Regions from separate parts of the Homo sapiens genome. Here region 2 is linked to region 1. Evidence: promoter capture Hi-C in human tissues and cell types (Jung and others, 2019). All regions are on one chromosome and are shown on one strand. Each heading gives the region's core, a stretch centred on a gene start or on the middle of the fragment in contact. The rest is flanking DNA. Distances are from core to core; before and after follow the strand shown. Region 1 holds the start of MAML2 (mastermind like transcriptional coactivator 2). Region 2 overlaps FAM76B (family with sequence similarity 76 member B).

Region 1 (6,203 bases), core at 659-3,158:
TCACACTCTGGGGACTGTTGTGGGGTGGGGTGAGGGGGGAGAGATAGCATTAGGAGATATGCCTAATGCTAAATAACGAGTTCATGGGTGCAGCACACCAGCATGGCACATGTATACATATGTAACAAACCTGCACGTTGTGAACATGTACCCTAAAACTTAAAGTATAATAATAATAAAATTTAAAAAAAGAAATAAAAGAAATTATAAAACAAACAAAAAATCTGAGTGTATTTGTCCCCATTTCCAAGCTAACAGGATTGGTGAAAATAAAATGGACTAAAGTAGGCTATCCTATAGGGAACTAAATTGCAAATAAATCCAGTATTGAGATGTTTGCCTTGATTTTGCCTATTTCTATCCATAGCTCAGTTTGAAACGACCATATTCGTGAAATGCCAGAGTTTGTTTAGATTACTGAAGGTATATTATTTGAGACCTCAAATCCAAATGACTTCCAAATTAGGATACCCAGAATATTTTTGGTCCTGACTGTTGCAGTATTATGCTCACCTTAATTTAATCTTCATAATTGAAAATAAGCAGAATCCACAATAAGTTTTTTTTTTTTTTTTGGAGACAGAGACTCACCCTGTTGCCCAGGTTGGAGCGCAGTGGCGTGATCTTAGCTCACTGCGACCTCCGCCTCCTGGGTTCCAGCAATTATCCTGTCTCAGCCTCCCGAGTAGCTGGGATTACAGGCGTATGACACCATGCTCAGCTAATTTTTGTAGTTTTAGCAGAGACGGGGTTTCACCATATTGGCCAGGCTGGTCTTGAACTCTTGAACTCAGGTAATACACCTGCCTTGGCCTCCCAAAGTGCTGGGATTACAGGCGTGAGCCACTGTGCCTGGCCAGGATTGGATATTTTAAAGGTTGGATCACTTGAAAATGGGGGAACAATGATCTGTGTGAGATCTATTTGGTTTCTATTATTAAACTTCTTGAAACTCAGAGCCAGGTGCAGTAGTGGTGAGTACCTGTAGTTCCAGCTACTCAGGAGGCTCAAGTGGGAGGATCACTTGAGCCCAGGAGTTCAACTCCAGCCTGGGCAACATAACAAGACTCCATTAAAAGAAAAAAAAAAAAAAAACTTTTTGAAACTCAGCTGCTACACATTGACTTTCCTCATTGTATATGTGCACCAGGTAGCTAAGGATACTTCAGGTCTTATATTTGGTTTTTCATAGGCAATCATGCATTCCCAAAAAAAAAGCGTTTTTTTCTAGAACTGGTATCGATAATTGTATCATTCTCATAAAATATTTTATTTATCCCAACTGATTTGCCTGTGATCACCCAGACTCACTTATCCAGAGACACACAAATGGGCAGGCAGGTAGACAAACGCTACACCTGCCTGCCCTTTAGGAGCTAACAATGTGATTACCTCTCCTCTCCACGCGCAACCCCTTCCGCCCTCAACACACACATTCATATCTTCCTTATTCTATTAATGAACATTTCCTCGGTGCTCACACAGCTCGTGCTAGGTTGCTCAGTGGTGTCATTTACAATATACTGAAAAATGAAAATGATATCCTCAGCGGGGCGTAATGTAGGGCTGAAAGGGAAAACACATTCCTGGCCCGGAATTTCTTAAACATTTAGAGCTGGTGAAATGGTTGTGTAGAGGTTGGGGAATTTCCCCAGCCTTCCCCGCTTAACCGAGTCTGATGCTGAGCTGAGCCAGGGCAGCTGAGATGCGCAGGGCTTGGGATTTACCTCTTCAGCCACTGGGAGGCCCTCTGCGTTCCCCTTTCCCCGGTGCCTGGCTGCGATTACTCACTCGCGCAGTGGCACCAGCCTTCCACCAGGGAGCCTCGAACGAGCTCTCCCGCCCTCTCCCCGCCCCCCCACCCCCATCTGCAGCTTGCTGGCTCTCTCTTTCTCCTTCTCTGTCTCACTCTCTCTCTTTCTCTCCCTCTCCTATCGGAGCACAATGAAAGCCTGTGTATCGCCGTGACTCCGGGCGCGAGCCAGTGTCAGCAAAGCGGCTAACAACAGACGAGAAAGAGAAAGGAAAATACAAGCTACTTTTTTTTTCCATCTATAAAGCGGAGCAAATACAGGAGATAGAACCAGATTGCTTATTGCGAGTCCAGACCCTCAGATCCACTGGCCGGGGATGGAATGTACAAAAGTGGACAGAAAAGTGGCTGGACATGACTCGGTGCAATTTGCTGGAAGTTTGTAAGTTTGACCATCGTTTGTAAATTACTCTCGGAAGAGTTTGTCTCTCTTGATACTGTATTAGAATAGAGCCGGGGGTGAGGAATAGAAACGTAAGCGGGAAAGAAAAAAATGTGTTGAAGGATCTCTCTCAGTGGCTAGCGACTTAAGATTGCTTTTCATTTAAGGCTAGGAAACCTTAGAGGGAGTGAGGATTTTACCGGTGATTGGATTAGCTGAAGAAAAAAGCATGGTCCAAAAGTCCAATTACTGACATTGTTAACAGTTGAAAAGCTGTCTCCCTCTTTTGGGAGAAGACAACATCCTACAGTACCCCAAAGAGGAGAAAACACCGGAGCGAAAGGAAAGGGAGGAAAAATTAAAAGCCAAAAGACAGTCTCCCTTGATTTTTGCACATTTTGAACAGTGACTTAAACATCTTCTGAAACAGCACTGTTTTGTTTTGTTTTGGTTTTTTATTTAACCTGAGGAAAAGTCAAGGCTGCTGGTTACATAGACATGGTAGAAATGTGTTTCTCTGCAGAAACATCCCCATAAAGAATTGTCGGAAACAACTAGGTGAGGGGGAGTCCTCTCTATTAATACCTCTCTCAATACCTTTTGCTGTGTGTTTCTGTCTCTTGCTGGACAATCCCTGAATTCTTGATCTAACCCCCAGATCGTGTGTTTACAAAGTACCTAGTGGCTCTTGTCAGCTTGGTGGAGGAAAAAAAATCCACCAACTCTGTCCAACTTCTCCAGAGCTGTCAAATGCAATTAGAGTAAGTTAATCAGGGTTTGTTTCCAACTTATCCTCCCCCCAGTTGGTTTCTATTCTTTCTCCCCACCCTCTTTTTACTAACTCCCCTCCCCCACAACTTCTCCACGGCTCCCCCACAACCTCTGAAGACCTCTATTCATGTGGCCCTGAACACTGAGCTCACATTGTCAAAAACAGACTTGCCTGCAATAGCCAGCAGTAGCCTCTTTCCACCTCACCATCCCAGAGGCAGCAATCATTGTGTCCGGTAAGATGGGGGACACAGCGCCCCCGCAGGCCCCCGCAGGAGGGCTAGGGGGGGCCTCTGGGGCGGGGCTCCTTGGAGGGGGCTCAGTCACCCCGAGAGTGCACAGTGCTATCGTGGAGCGCCTCCGGGCTCGGATCGCTGTCTGCCGCCAACACCACCTGAGCTGTGAAGGACGATATGAACGAGGTAGGGCCGAGAGCTCAGACCGGGAAAGAGAAAGCACCTTGCAGCTCCTGAGCCTTGTACAGCATGGCCAGGGGGCAAGGAAAGCTGGCAAACACACCAAGGCCACCGCCACTGCTGCCACCACTACAGCCCCTCCACCGCCCCCTGCTGCCCCTCCTGCGGCCTCCCAAGCAGCAGCAACAGCAGCCCCACCGCCCCCACCAGACTATCACCATCACCACCAGCAGCACCTGCTGAACAGTAGCAATAATGGTGGCAGTGGTGGGATAAACGGAGAGCAGCAGCCGCCCGCTTCAACCCCAGGGGACCAGAGGAACTCAGCCCTGATTGCGGTAAGCACCTGGCTTTCTCATGGTTCTGGCTGTGGTCCTGTGACCTTTTGTGAGGGTAGAGTTTGCTTTGGCCTAAGGTAGAGTGGATGGCAATGAAAAAGGCCAAGATGTCACCTGACTACCTTAAAGGCCATTGGGTGTGTTCGGGTGGTTTCATGCGCCTACTCATCATGTTCTGTTGGTGCTCACTCCTGGGTTTTCCTTCGCTTATAGGATATTCCTTAACTGATAAGAAGCCTGAGTTTTCCAGAGGCTCTCTGGGGTCCACATCTTATAAAAGAAGAGGCTACCAGCTGGCAAGATCTGAGCCACTGAGGAAGGTTCTATCTCATGGATCCTCCAGCTTTGGCCAGCCAGCTCTGATTAGGCCCCCAAGCCATTTTTCAGCCCCAAAGCATTTATCAGCCCAGCTGGCCTTTATTAAAGCCTTTTTCTCCTTGCCCCATTTCCCCTCTCCCTTTTGAAGTGACCCCCTTCTTCTTCGCTTAAGAGAACATAAATGGTAAGCTGTAACAAATAGCAAATTCCCCGAATGTCCCCTCAGTCAAAAACAAAATTTGGGGAAAATATCCCAAAGAGAGACTAGGGAGGCACTGTTTCTTAAGAGGCCTACTCTCTGATTCCCTCTAGACTCTCTCACTCCTGAGCCACATCTCGATTATTTTCCCAAGCACTCCAGTCCAATCCAGTAATGCTCCCTTAGAGCATTCGTTAAGCAGACAGGCACGAAGCAGCTATTTACACAGATCATCATCCTAGGAAATACCTTGTCTTCAGCCACTCCTGGTGATAGGATATCAAACCCAAAAGTTCTGATTAAGTTTCTGGCTGGAAGTTCTTCCCCAGAGGCACAGACACACACCATCCCAGAGGAGTATCCCTTGGATCATTGATTCTCAGTGCCAGTCCTGGTCAGGTGACTGCCTGCTGTTTGCAGGCTTCCCCCCAAAGCTGCTGGACCAGTGGCCTCTGGTGGAAGGTAGAACCCTGCCCTGTGGCCCTGCAGGCTTCCTCCCTTTTGGAGCTCCATGGGACTTCTGGATTCTATGTCTGCTCCAGTTTACCCAGGTCAGCCCTAGCAAAAGCGACAGGAAATGGCCATGCAAGCCCCAAAGTACTCAAAAAGCCCAAAGGAGATGGTGCTATTGTGTCTAACTGCTCCTCCAAAGGAGCTTGATATTGAGCTCTCGGGAGAGGACATCCTCTGGCCAGACGCTCAGGATGGCTCTTTCTGGCTTCCCTTAATCCCTGGCCTGGGTCCATGGTGACGAAGACCCTGGGAATCTCTGGGGAGTAGGATGGTGCTTTTCTCCCCAGCCATAAGCACATTTACTTGGGCTACCTAGGAATGGGACTCCTTGAGGCCAGCTCCAGATGAAAAATAACTACCAACAGTTAAACTGCACAGGGTTTACAGTTTTACCCTTGAATAGCAGCACTAGCTTGTGGGGTTGTATTAGAGCTTCGAAGCCTAATATCCTTTTTCTACCACCTGCTCTATTCCCGCTTCTCCCTGGAATTCCCTAGGAAAGCAGTGGGAGGTTGTTTTGTGAAAAAAGAGATGTTAGGGTAAAGGAGGGGGGTAAAGAATCGCTCAAATGGAGAGAAGAATGAGGTTTGTATGTATGTGTGTGTCACCAGCATCTGTAGCCAAAAGTATCTAAATGCCTTGATTGTCCCCAGTAAATTTATAATCTGTCTGCAAGTCTCCCAATAATGCGGCTTTGTGTGCTTCACAGTCTCCTGGTAAGTGTTTCTGGGGATGGAACCGCAAGTGAGGCACCCGGCCCAACCCTGAGTGGAGAAGACTGATCTCTGCCCGGGGTGTCAAGGCCGGAGCGGGGCCGTGAAGAGCCACAGTGGGCTTCCCTTGTGGCCTTCACAGCCCAGCCTCTGAAGGAAAGGTGGCATGTTTGCCTCTGGCCTTGTTCTTTGAGCTTCTGCTTTTGTCCAACTTGGCAGTAAGCTGAGACAGCCTTTTTTTTCTAGGGTGTTTCATGATGGGAAATGAAACCAACTTTAGTGGTCGTGGTAACTTTACAGTAGCAATACCCATGCTGGGAGGGAAGTGAGGGAGCGGTGTCTGGCCCTTCCCGACTGAAAGCTTACTGCTGCAGAAGCCATAGCTGGCTGCTGTGCTACCTCTGGCCTAAGAGGGAATCTTTCTCTCTTCTAACCACCAGCCATCTCCTGAGACATTCCCTTAGAGGAGCTCCCTCTCCAGGTGTAGTGATGATGCAGAGAGGCACAGTTTAAGTTAGGAGGGTAAGGGATAGTATATTTCTAGTAGTTGCTTTTCACTGAGAATATGTGGCATTGCACGGGTTGTTGGAAATTCCCTCTCCATTTTAGCTGCTAAATTTGGCCCGTTGTTACTCAGCACGGTACTCAGAGATGGTGATGCAAGTGCTGTATTAACCTGATAACATTGTGTCCAAAGGGAGGCCTGGGCATTTTGAAGTGATTCACCAAGCCCATTACAT
Region 2 (6,199 bases), core at 1,747-4,246, 570 kb after region 1:
GGCATGCAGAGATGGTGAACATCCAACATGGATACAGAATGCTACCATATTAAGCTGCTTCTCTTCTAGGTTTCATACATTTAGAAATCAGACCACACTAAATTAATTACATGTTCTCTTTGATTTATACAGTCTCACATTTGTAAAATTAGTCTTTAGTAACAAAATTTTTAAGGTGAAAGAAGTTTTAAATGTTAATGGAAGATGGCAGCACACAGACGTCAGACTTGGGAGAGTACAGCTTCAGAAGGAAGGAGTTAATACTGTCCTGTTTCATTTTGTTTTTTTTTTTTCACATTGTAACACCAAAGGATATTTGCTATTTCTTTCTTTTGGTTTTGTATTATTCATACTTCTTTGCAAGTAGCTTAAATTAGTAGGATTTAGGAACTTGCTCAAATTCGAGGTACAGATTATCTGGTCTTAATCCCTATCATACTATTACAAAGACTGTTGAAAAAGGAACCTCATGTAGAACCTGAGACATAGTAGGCATTCAAATAATTTGTTGACTAGGTGGTGATTTATGGAAATGCCCATCAGCCCTCTGTTCTGAGAGATTGCCCGTATCATATATCAGATTCTTATATATTAGTCAATGTTTTTATCCACCAGCAAGTATTATTTTTAATTTTATGTTATTCCTGTTTTTCTTACTCAGTTATTAATGCTGAATGATTACCTGGAACAAAATCTTCCACCTGGTGATCTTTGATTTAATGTAATGTAACCAAAGCTCTGAAGTAAATCCAGAATGAGATAACAGAATAACTGCAATAGGTGCTCAGATATGTTTTAACTTAGTGCTCCCCACTGTTCAAAAGAGCAGTTTGTGTGTTGGTTTTTCTTTTTTAAAATCATAGTTGCAAATACATGGGGTCATCTTTGACTTAGCCTGATAGATATCTTAGGCCTACCTCCTCTTGGTAATTGAAGTTTCATGTAGTATAAAAGTAACCAATATTTAAATAGGACATTTTGACATGATTTTACATATGCTGTCTTACTTGTTGCAAAAACTGGGTTATGTGATATGCCCATTTTACAGAGGAAACTGTGATCACACAGTAAGCGGTGACGTAGAAATCTCTGTCTTCTCACTCCAGTTTATCTATACTTTTCCCTGTCCTACACTAGTTCCCACCACTTCAGGTTCCTCAGGTTTTCTATTTCATCCTTCCTATCAGGCCACTTCCCTGATTTTTTTGTGTTATGGCTAGAGACAATCTGTCATAGCTGAGTGCCATCTTTTTACCTCACTTCCTTTAGCAACCAAGTGATACTAGTAGGATTCTTTACTGAGGTGAGGAAACCGGTAATTTTTTTTTTATCTTTATGTAATAAGGAATTGAATCCTGTGACACAAGATGGATCTTGCTCTAATAGCTAGTAAAATATTTTTAACTGCCAAACCTACGACAAAACACTGAACATCACATGAAAAAATTGTTCAAAATGTCACCCCAAAATACCCCAAATATTGAAAATACTAAGAATATCAAGTTAAAACTCTTATTCACTTAATTAGGTAAGTGGTTAAAAGGAAAAGGGACCTAACATTTGAGTGCCTTCTGTGTACCAGGAACTGTGTTAGGCTAAGTGTTTTATATATTTGATAAGTTCCTTCAACTCATTTTGAGTTCGGATGGTGGAGTTTGTGTTACAAATGAGAAAATATGCTCCAGGTTATGTAGCTGGTAAGTAAGCCAGGATTTAAAGCAGGATCTATGTAATTCTTAATCCTGATATTCTTTCCTTTGCACCAACATGTCTAAACTTTAAAACTTAGCTTTCTTAAGAGTCTGTAAAGAATTTCATTGATTTTTTTTTTTTTTTTTGGCTGGCTGCAAAATGAAGTAATTTTAGGATAAAACAATTTAAATGTACATATATTGAAATATGGCATAAAATTCATTTTTAAAGTATTCAAATTAGAATAATTTGGACTTGTACTTAACAATTGTGTTATTTATTTACCATAAAGACTTTTGTCTTATGTAATTTATTAAGAAATATCTTTATTAGTGATATAAATATATTAAAAGCAAATTGGAAATTAGCTACCAAAGCATTAAATGGAAAAATTGCTTTGAAGACCTAATGTTCAAATTATTGTATTTTGTACTTAAAATATGAAAATTATAAACACTTTATTTCTTGATAATTGAGATAAGAACTTGGAGATTCACATTTTAACTATTTTGTATCAGTATAAACATTTTTAGATAAATATAACTTAACAGATCTAGTGGAGATCTTTTTGAGTCAAATTTGCAGACTCAAAATTTGAAATTGATACTGAATTTGAAATTGAAGTTTTTCGTTACCACCTTAGTTATTAATAACCACTGAATAGGAAAGTTCTATTGATCATGCATCTGAACATAAAAAATTATTTGATTTGCACATATAAGATAGTACTGAGAATATTTGCATTTTAGAGGTCATGGGTGTTAATTAGCAAGAGTGATTGGAGAAGAAGGGTGGGGGAATGGAAGAATAAAGTTTGAAAAAGGTTATTTCATGAAACCACTTTAAGATGGCATACAGAGAAGGCAGAGTGTTATCTGCCCGTAAAAAGCTAAAATTAGAATAAAATATGAAGTACTGAGATTAAAAAAGTCTGTCTATATAATAAAAATTCCTGGAACCTGTGAAGGAAAATGGTGTTGAAACATAAGTCAGAGGATATCTTTTTAAAATGTGTTAATTTTAGGGCAGTGCTCTATTTTCATCACTTTCCCCATTTTGGCTCAAACTACAAAAATGCTTGATCATTAATGTATTTGTATATATAGGGATCCTTACTATCTAAGTTTTCATATTTAAGAGACTGAATAAGGTGACAAAGGCAGTCAAAATGTGAAAATATTCACTGTACTTACACATTCCTCTTCACTAAACTAGTGATGGATGGACATTTAATAATGAAATTCAAGTCAGATGATGAAATGAAATTTTGAATCTTTGTAAAAATTCAAGCTTTCATGAGATAGGAAATGATGATGTGGAACTGCTCAAACCACACTAAAATCAGTGTCAGATGACTGGTAACTAAAGGAACAACAAGATAATGAGTGGTTCTGATGGGTGCTTTAAAAAAAATTGAATATCATTGGGTGCATTTGGCAAAGTAACAAATTCTGAGTTGTTTTTGCAAAAATGACCTCTTATGCTTGTTCTACAAGAGAGTAAACATAGAAAAAAGACCTTATACAGCTTGCCAGGAAATACTCCTCCCAAATCTTGATTCATTCTTTGATTTTATTAATTGTAAATTACAACTTATTTTCATAGTTTTCATGTTTTTAAGATGAAGGGCCAAACACCTTTTCCCTATTAAAATTTGGACCTTCTTTTAAGTGGATTCACTTTGTTTCCTTTTTTGTAACCAATTGTGCATCTTTGGACACAATTATATTAATAATGACATATACAAAGGGGGCTGATGAGCCAATCTAGAATTTTCCTTCTGCATGTTCATCCTTAAAGAGATGAATGTAAAGGTATCAACTCTTTCATTTAATGTTAGTGCTTTAGTGAAACATTTATATAAATGAAAACAGTATTAAATAAGTAGTATTCTTCAGCATGACTTAATAATATTTCAAACATTTTTAATCTTGAATGTTTTTGTCTCCCACAGGCCAAAAACAGAGAACTACTCAAACAGGTCGCAGCATTATCAAAGGGTAAAAAATTTGACAAAAGTGGAAGCATACTAACATCTCCTTGAGAAAGTCATTTGTTTAGCATTTCTTCTTACAATGTAAATTTGGGGAAAAAAAATTCTGTGAAGCCCTTAAATTCTGTGTAGTAGAAAAATATTTTTGCACACCAAATGAATTGGTGTGTTTCCTGTTCACTTTTGTAATTGATATACAGCATTTTTTAAGTTGTAAAACATTCAAATAAAACTTCAACTGGTTTGAAGTAACTTTTTAATTATTTGATATCCAGGAACTTTTTTGCCAGCAATAGTATTAAACAGTTGTAAAGGAGTGCATGAGTAGTGCTCTTTATGAAACGCAACATGCAATAATAGAGTAGGTATGGTTTCAGAAGTCAGAGCAGCAGGGTTTTTTTGTTTTGTTTTTGTTTTACACTATGCTAATTTCAGACAAACAGTTTTCAATTTAGAAATACAAAAACTTTTAAACTCGAAAAATGGCGAACACTGGTTTTTTGGGAATTGTGTTTTTACTTTGCATCAAGATGAATTTAGGAGAAAATCACGGTGCTTTTATTAAATGAACTTCAGATATATGTAAATTTGTTTTTTAAAGTTACATCATTAACATTAGTAACCTAGCATTTTCATTATTGGTATAGGAATTAATGTTTATTGTACAGTATCTAAGGTAAAATGTGTTTCTGTTTTGTAAAAACTACTGTAGATTTTTACTTACAAGTGCCTTTTTGCCACCTAATGTTTTTATTTATAGGAATGCTGATCTTTTGTACATACATTTTGTTTTAAAATCATGTTTAATAAATGTTTGTATATAAATGCATATGTACAGAAGCCTATTTCAAAAGGAAATCAAAGTTGCTAGTAAAATGTTTGAGATTACATTTAGAACTAACTGATAATGCATATAGATTGTAGAAAATTTTGTGATTTGTTTCTGTGTGATAAGGGAAGCTGTTGGTCTTTGAATTCATTTAATTATGTCAAAATAGTTCCCCAAAGATTTAATTTTAAGTTGCTTCTTAAAGAGTAATTTTATTTTTTATGTCATGTGGCTTCATATTAGTATTGTGTGAGTTACATGTTTTGCTTTATATTTTATAAAATTTTTTAAAAATTTTAATGTTTCTGCAATGATCCATGTATCTGCTTTCCCTATGTGTGGTTATCTAAGTTAATATTTATGTACAATGTAATTTGTAAATTTAAAGCAAATCTGAAAAAAATTAAATGATCTTTTTAATCCAATCTGTGATAATCTTTGAATAAATTGGAATCTACTATAAGATTCAGGCATTATAAGTAAATTGTCCTAAAGTCTTTAAAATTGTCTATAAAAGGTTAAGGTAGGGTGGGATAGGTTATATGAAGTTATTGACTATATTCTGATCCAGCGGTTTTCAGCCTGAAATAGAATTTATCTCCTAGTTATTATCAGTTCAGAGTTTTAGTTTGATTTTAAAGTATTGCTAGATACACTGTATAGAGTGAGTTGCTTCTCTTAATAATTTATGGGCAAAGATAAATTTGCTTCATGTAAAACTGTTACTAAATTTATAAGTTTTAAAGGTTTTGTTTTATACAAGCATTGATTGTGAATGTCATATCAAAGATTGGCTTTCTTAAGAACACATGATTGAAACAATTTTTTTTTAACATGACGTGTTTCAATAGACTGTTCTCATAGTTCATTATAAAGTGAATACCAAATAATTCTTTGTCCATTTTGAAAGCATAATATAGGGTAATTTTCAAGTGATACAAAAAGATTCAGTTAGAATCTTGTAAACTAAACCAGTTTATTTTTATGGGATCTTCATGTAATAATTTTCTTAAATTTAGTACTCTCAACCATGATAGATAATGCCTTAACATGGATTTTAACGTTTGCAGGATTTGCTAAATTCATAAGATAGTTATTACCTTTCTTTGAAATTTGTAATGTTTTATATTCTTGTTTCATAGCCATTTGTCAGTCCACAGTGGTCATTATGGTTTTACTTTTTGATAGTTCTTACACCTTGTTGGAGAAACTACAAAAGAAAGTTGTCCTCGTCCTTCCCCTTAGCTAACATCAAAATTAAAAAGTTGAATATTAATATTAGCTAACATTAAAATGGAAGGTAATTCAGTTTTAGTGTTAGCTAACATTAACAGTCTAATAATTTAGCTTTGTAAATTCCAAGGCTAAAACCCTTTCATGGGCTTCACAGTATTTAGTCCTAATTAAATACCCTTCTTTATTCCATGACCTTATTTTATAACTTAAATTTTTTTGCAATTGTATAAATTAGTAATTCAGTCCCAGTCCTGGATCTCTGTAGTGTTTTGACATAATAAACTGATATTCTTTAAATGTGGACCTGTAAGGAGATACTATGGTGTGGTGTATTGTGCTTTTAGCCTGTTTTCCACTATTAATTAGCATTTACCAGTAAGGGTCATTTTGACTCAAGTTATTTATGTATTAATAGCCTGTGAATATTGCAGTCCTTTTTAGATTATATT

The links. The method cuts DNA at HindIII sites, captures the fragments that hold promoters and counts their contacts. A contact is called where the count stands out against the background at its distance.
Region 2: a fragment that was not itself captured here is called in contact with the fragment with the promoter of MAML2 in region 1 in 1 of the 25 tissues and cell types used here (lymphoblastoid cells).

Annotation. Positions count from the first base shown.
Region 1 is chr11:96,338,900-96,345,102 of GRCh38, reverse strand. MAML2 (mastermind like transcriptional coactivator 2) reads left to right here and starts at 1,908. Exons shown (of 5, transcript NM_032427.4): 1 at 1,908-3,720. The coding sequence starts at 3,208. MIR1260B (microRNA 1260b) reads right to left here and starts at 3,665; the gene lies at 3,577-3,665. RefSeq lists silencers at 1,725-1,914, 3,032-3,291, 5,544-5,838. The HindIII fragment of the contact is 9,356 bases long and covers 1-6,147 here.
Region 2 is chr11:95,769,098-95,775,296 of GRCh38, reverse strand. It overlaps FAM76B (family with sequence similarity 76 member B), which reads left to right. Exons shown (of 10, transcript NM_144664.5): 10 at 3,647-6,199. The coding sequence ends at 3,736. Among named protein-coding and RNA genes, the nearest start is that of FAM76B, 18 kb to the left of the region's middle. The HindIII fragment of the contact is 4,038 bases long and covers 978-5,015 here.